Linked DNA regions of Homo sapiens: region 1 is linked to region 2. The links are contacts of gene promoters, found by promoter capture Hi-C in human tissues and cell types (Jung and others, 2019). All regions are on one chromosome and are shown on one strand. The core of a region is centred on a gene start or on the middle of the fragment in contact, and the rest is flanking DNA. Distances in the headings are between cores, read along the strand shown.

What was found. The method cuts DNA at HindIII sites, captures the fragments that hold promoters and counts their contacts. A contact is called where the count stands out against the background at its distance.
Region 1: a contact is called between a fragment that was not itself captured here and the fragment with the promoter of FN1 in region 2, in 1 of the 25 tissues and cell types used here (IMR-90 fibroblasts).

Annotation. Positions count from the first base shown.
Region 1 is chr2:215,705,999-215,709,060 of GRCh38, forward strand. The region is part of intron 5 of LINC00607 (long intergenic non-protein coding RNA 607); the gene reads right to left. The region is part of intron 7 of LOC102724861 (a long non-coding RNA gene); the gene reads left to right. Among named protein-coding and RNA genes, the nearest start is that of LINC01614, 11 kb to the right of the region's middle. The HindIII fragment of the contact is 7,643 bases long and covers 1-3,062 here.
Region 2 is chr2:215,434,580-215,437,467 of GRCh38, forward strand. It overlaps FN1 (fibronectin 1), which reads right to left and starts at 1,489. Exons shown (of 46, transcript NM_212482.4): 1 at 1,076-1,489; 2 at 117-245. The coding sequence starts at 1,223. FN1-DT (FN1 divergent transcript) reads left to right here and starts at 1,112. Exons shown (of 2, transcript NR_187198.1): 1 at 1,112-1,730; 2 at 2,340-2,888. RefSeq lists silencers at 1,513-1,572, 1,583-1,672. The HindIII fragment of the contact is 6,677 bases long and covers 1-2,888 here.

The DNA of each region.
Region 1 (3,062 bases), core at 350-2,849, 270 kb after region 2:
TGAGAAAATGAAAAATTACTACTCGAAACTGCAATTCCTTCTGAAGGGATTAGCACCTATAAAAAGAAACGTCAGGACTTCTTCCAGGCCTTTGCTATTTATATAATAGAAACTTTGAGGAGATTTGTGGGTTTTGGACATGAGCAAGTGGGCCAGGAACTGAGTTGTATTCATCTTCCACAAATATTTACTCAATGCCTATAATGTGGTGTCAGGAATTGAGAGGGGAAAGACCAAAATTGTTCTTCAATAATAGAGCAAAAAGAATTTGGAGTTCTTGAATGCAACTTGGAAGGGAAAGAATGAGGAAGATGAAACAGAGCCAACACAGGATGGGAAAGTTCAGGATGCTGCCTAGGCCAGGAGTGCTGGTGATAACATCCCTAGAGGTAGAAAGGCCAGAAGCTCTTTCTGAGCGGCAGCAGCAAATTTTAAGTTGCTTTCATTTTTAAGATATAAATGCTTCTATATCTGCAAACTTTAATACTACTGCATTTGTGGGATCAGCCTGTGTTTAAACCAAGGAAAAGTGCTGAATTTCAATTTCATGTCTCCACTGAGCCACTGTGGAGAGAAGACAACCCAATCAGCATGGTGGAAAGTTTTCTCACACAGCACACATGCAGTAGAAGCAGAATGCTGGAATCAGAGGTAAGCACAAAAGCATAAGACACCTATGAATTCACAAAATTCTGAAGAAGGAATTGGGCATTTAAAAGTTTTATTAAAAAGCATTTAAGTCATGCAAAAAAATAAAAGGATAAATACAATAAATTTCCAGGTACACACACCAGCCAGCCTAAGAAACACATTATCAATATATTTGAAGCTCCCTGTGTTTCTTCAATATTGTTTCCCTCCCACCCCACTCTAGATATAACCCCCATCTTCAATTTGATGTTTGTCACCCCCAAAGGCATTGGATGTCCCACAAATAGCAAAATGAAGTTCAGTTCAATCTTGTCTATGTCTAAGGCAATTCTGACATGTGGTTTATGAATACATAATTTGTGCATCCCTGATGCCATGCAGCTATTTGGTATATAATATGTTCAAATCAGATAATAAATACACATCAACACATTTACACACACACACACACACACACACACACCTTTACGTAAAGCATTTATACATAAAAACGTAGTTATAAATATAATATACGTAAATATCTTGACTATTTCAAGGTATTCAAGCTATCTGAGATTTATTCAATTCTATTTCATTTTAACAACTAAACACAAATCAATACATTATCTGTTTTTATAAAAACAGTCTTCTTGGGGCTTAAAAAATTTAAATATGTAATATACTCTGTGATTTCCCTGAAAGCCACAAACCAATTTTCTTCTCAGCACTAGGCACCCAATTACAACATTTAAAATTAAAAGTTCAAGTTACTGTGGGTTTTCTGCTCAGTTGCAATTAATTTTGAAACTTATGTTTAGAAGGACATGTTTTTCTCAAATCTCAATGTTTTCTCAAAAACAATGAATAATTGTATAAGCACGATTATTCACTGTTTGAGGTAATCTAAGACACCGTTTTTCTTTGTAAACATTGAATACTTTTATTAGCAGATATCACATTTAGAATATTGGGCTGAAGGACAGGAAACATGCGAAATTCATATATTCTCAAGTTTGTCCAGAGTGTTTGGAGAAAAGTACTTAATTCTCTTTCTTTTAGAAGATAATACCAGCAACCAATGAACTGTATCTTTAAACACTAAAGCGGGAAGTAAGCTATGTCCTTATCTGAGGAACGTGTGTTGCGTGATTGCTGATAAACACAGTGCTGTTTCTGGAGGTGATTTGCAAAGTCAGAGCTATATGCACCCATAAAGCATCACTGCATTCAAAGGAATCTGAACAGCCAAGCTCCAAAAGGAAGGGGAACTTCATCCCGGCTGTCTCTGCTGCAACATGGTGGAGCATGTAAAGTCTTACAAACTCACCCCAGTTAGGAAACTGATGAACACTTGAGGGACTACGGAACATTCGGTACTGCGCTAGGGATCCTGAGAACCACAGACATATTAAGCAGGCATGATCTTTCCATAAGACACTCTTAGGGCCATTGGAGGAAATAAGGCACCTATAAAGGAGAGAGCCATCTTTGAGGTTGAAATGGTCAGGCAAGGCGTAGGCTTTAGGGTCTGTTTTAGTCTGTTCCTGTTCTCAAATATTTTATTATAGTAGCAGGACCAGACTGAGACAGACTCCAAACCCAAAGAACATAAATTTGGCCTGACACGGTGGCTCACACCTGCAATCCAAACACTTTGGGAGACCAAGGCGGGAGGATCACTTGAGCCCAGGAGTTTGAGGCTGCAGTGAGCTGTGATTGTGCCATTGCACACCAGCCTAGGTGACAGAGCAAGACCCTGTCTATAAATAAATAAATAAACAAACAGAAATTTATTACCCACAGTTCTGAAGGCTGGGAAGTCTAAAATCAAGGCACTAGTAGATTTGGTGTCTAGTGAGGACTCATTATCTACTTCATAGATGGCTCCTTCTTGCTGGGACCTCACACGACAGAAAGGGTGAACAAGTGCCACGGAGTTTCTTTGGTAAGTGCACTCATCCCATTTTTGAGCTCATGACCTAATCGCCTCCTAAAGACTCCATCTCTTTAATACTGTTGCACTGGAAATTAGGTTTCAACATATAAATTTTGAACCAATATTCAGACCATAACAGGTTCTCCAAAATATTAAGGGAGAAAATAGGACATTAATGTAGGATTTCAGGGTGGATTACTTTTAGGTAGAGATAAGAATCACTATATACAAAAGCATGATGTTTGTGTCAGGAAAGGATAAATAGATTTGCCTGGCTGGAATAAAGGATTCTTGTAGGGCAGTAGAGAAAAATAGGTAGAATGGGAAAAGTAGGTTGGAGCCAGAACATGGGGTCTTCAAGGCCAAATCGAAAGTAAACAATAGGGAATCTTCCCTGGCCCCATTTTTTTTCTTTCTTTTTTTTTTTTTTTGGTGAAGAGAGGAACATGATTTAAAAAAAAAAAAAAATTAAGGCATTGTATACAAAAAAGCCATA
Region 2 (2,888 bases), core at 239-2,738:
TGACAGGTAATTCTATTAGAAAAATGGTGTATGTATTTTTACTTACTAATGCAAAGTTTAACAATTACCACTTCATGTATTAAAAGATACTAACTATGGGGCTTGTTGTCACTTACCTTCAGGTTTACTCTCGCAGTTAAAACCTCGGCTTCCTCCATAACAAGTACAAACCAACGCATTGCCTAGGTAGGTCCGCTCCCACTGTTGATTTATCTGATAGTGTTTTCCATTGTCATAACAACCGGCTGCAAATAATTGAAGGAAAACGTTACATTTGCATTTCTCCTTTTCCCAAAATTATGGAATTTTCTTCATGTGAATATTGACGTACATATTTTTTTCCTTTTAACTTTGCTAAAAGTTATATACAATGATGTCATTTCCATCTGGCCAGGGGTCTACATAAAAAAGTTGGAAACATTTTGGAAGGCAGACAATTGAAGTCACATTTTTAAAACATGCAAGGAACTTAAATATTCTTTTGGAGTAATAGTCAAAAAGGACAACTTTAAGCAGCTTTCTCAAAGCAAAAGGAGGGTGTGTCTTTGAAAAACGGAAAGAATTCCAACCTCTGTTCTTGGTGAAGTATCCTGAGCGGCCCTAAAGAGGTCTGAACCAATTACATCTCTTCCAAGTTAGTTAGAAACAAGACAGCTATTTCAATACCCCCTTTCCACCCCCATGTTGAAAATATTTGACCAATTATTTAACAGAAGGAAATAAGTAGCAGTAAGGACCACACTAATCCCAGACGGAAAATTTATAGACATGCATCATTTTTCTCTTTAAAGGCAAGTTTTGGTTAATTCCTAGAAGGACAATCTGAACGTGCAGAATTTATTAGAACACGGGAAAGTCGCAGAGTCCTCGTCCTCCAATGCACGGTCTTATCATCCCAGGCCCTCAGAACCAGCGTGCTCAAAACTCGGTCCTTTTGTGTGCACAGCTGGTTTCTCTCAGTAAAGCGCGCACACACTCGCACACACGCGCGCGCACAAAACTTCAGCCCCAACTTTGGTCGGCTTTAGGGTCCCATCCCTGAGGCAGCCTGTTTCAGCCCGCGGTCAGTACTCACGCTTGCTTTGACTGACAGCCACCGGGGACTGGGGCTGAACCATTTGCTGAGCCTGCCTCTTGCTCTTCGAGGCTCCCGTGGAGGGCACCGCTGTCCCCAGGCACTGGACGGCCAGCAGCAGCAGCCCGGGCCCCGGACCCCTAAGCATGTTGAGACGGTGGGGGAGAGACGCCCGCACCGGGAGGCAAGTTGCCACCAAGTTTGCTTCCCTTCGCAACCTGCGGGAAAAATCCCTTCTAATGCCTCCCGGGGGTTGTCGCCTCCAAGAAGGTGGGGGCCAGAGGGTGGGGAAGGGGACGGGTGGAGGGACAGAAGGGATGCAGAGGACCAGAGAAGTTGTGGCTGCAGGTCCCCTCTTCCCGCTCGCGCCTGGGGTTCCCTCTCCTCCCCCTGTGCAGCACAGCCGGCGCGGGCGTCCGAGCGCCGGGAGCCGGGGCTTATATGGGACGGTCCCCTCCCGCCCCTCTGGAGGCCCGGGGCGCGGGGGAGGAGAGACCCGCCGGGCTGTCCCCGCCCCGCCCCACCCCACCCGCCCGCCCGCCCGCCGGCCGCCGCAGCCGACCGCGCGCCGATTGGCCCGGGCTCCGGGTGACGTCACGGGGGACTGTGGGTTCGCAGCGAACAAAAGAGATGCTGATGGCCCGCCAGGACTGGGGCAAGACAACTTTTTTTCGGTTTCCTTTGCGGTCATCAAACTTTTTAGGGGATGGGGGAAGGGATGGGAAGCGGCTGGGAGGAAAGGGAGTGGCTGGACTTGTGTGAAGCGAAGGGGTTGCAAGACGCTCCCCCTTCCCTTTTCTTTTTTATTGGGGGTGGTGGTAGTGTTTGAGGACATTGCGTCACCTCTCTTCGGGGTGGAGGGGGGGAATCTCTGCTTATAGGAGTGTATTTTGTGAGGAAGAAAACCCATAAAATATCCACGACCTTGCAGCTGTTAAGAATCCAGACTTTTCAGTCCCAGGGCGGGGCTGCCTTTCCCCCCATCCCGCTCCCTTTCTTTGGACTAAAGGGTACTGACTCGGGACTCCCTTATTTTGTCTTCACAGCTCCCTGTTCGGACTTCTTCCCTTCTCAGCGCTGTGCCTGTCTGGCTCTGAGAAAGGGCCAGCGGGCGAACGGGGAGCAAAGGGGAACAGAGACCTTTAATGAGCTTCTACTAAGTACCGGGAGTTCCGCGGGGCGCTTTGCAGATCCCGGGGAAGTTCAGAGAATGAAGTTTTCTTTTGCAAGGACAAAGTAACAGTTTACTTTTTTACACATGCAGGAAAGCCTTCCTTTCCTGGGGATGGGACGCCCGTTTCCACTGAAAGTGAAATCACTGTGAACAACCTGAAAATTGGAAAGTTGGACCAGCTGTGGGGAGAGAAAGGTCTTCGTGTCCTTTCCCACGTTCACCGTGCCAGTTACACACAAAGCAGAGATTTTTTTGCTTGAATCATTAAAAGCCGGGTGGGTGGGGGGCACCCTATGTACTGTCTTGCCCTCCTTCGGCCCCTTTCTCACATTTATTTGCCATTTTCTTTTTGCTGACAAGTTCCATTACAGAATGCCCCCTCCATCCCCCGCCGCCAGATTTTTTATATTTCAATTGTTATTTACTCCAAGAGTGTGGAAAGTTCTCCTTTAAGATTCCCCCGCCTTGAACTCTAAACTCAGAGTGGAAAGGGAATCTGAAAAGTCTCTCATTTAGCAACACATCACATCAGTCCTTTTTGTCAGATAAACACAGGCACAATTGCTTTTAAAGATCTTCAGAAGGAGGAGTCCACCACTTCCACAGTAGATCCAGAGAGACCCGAACTGAATGCTTTGC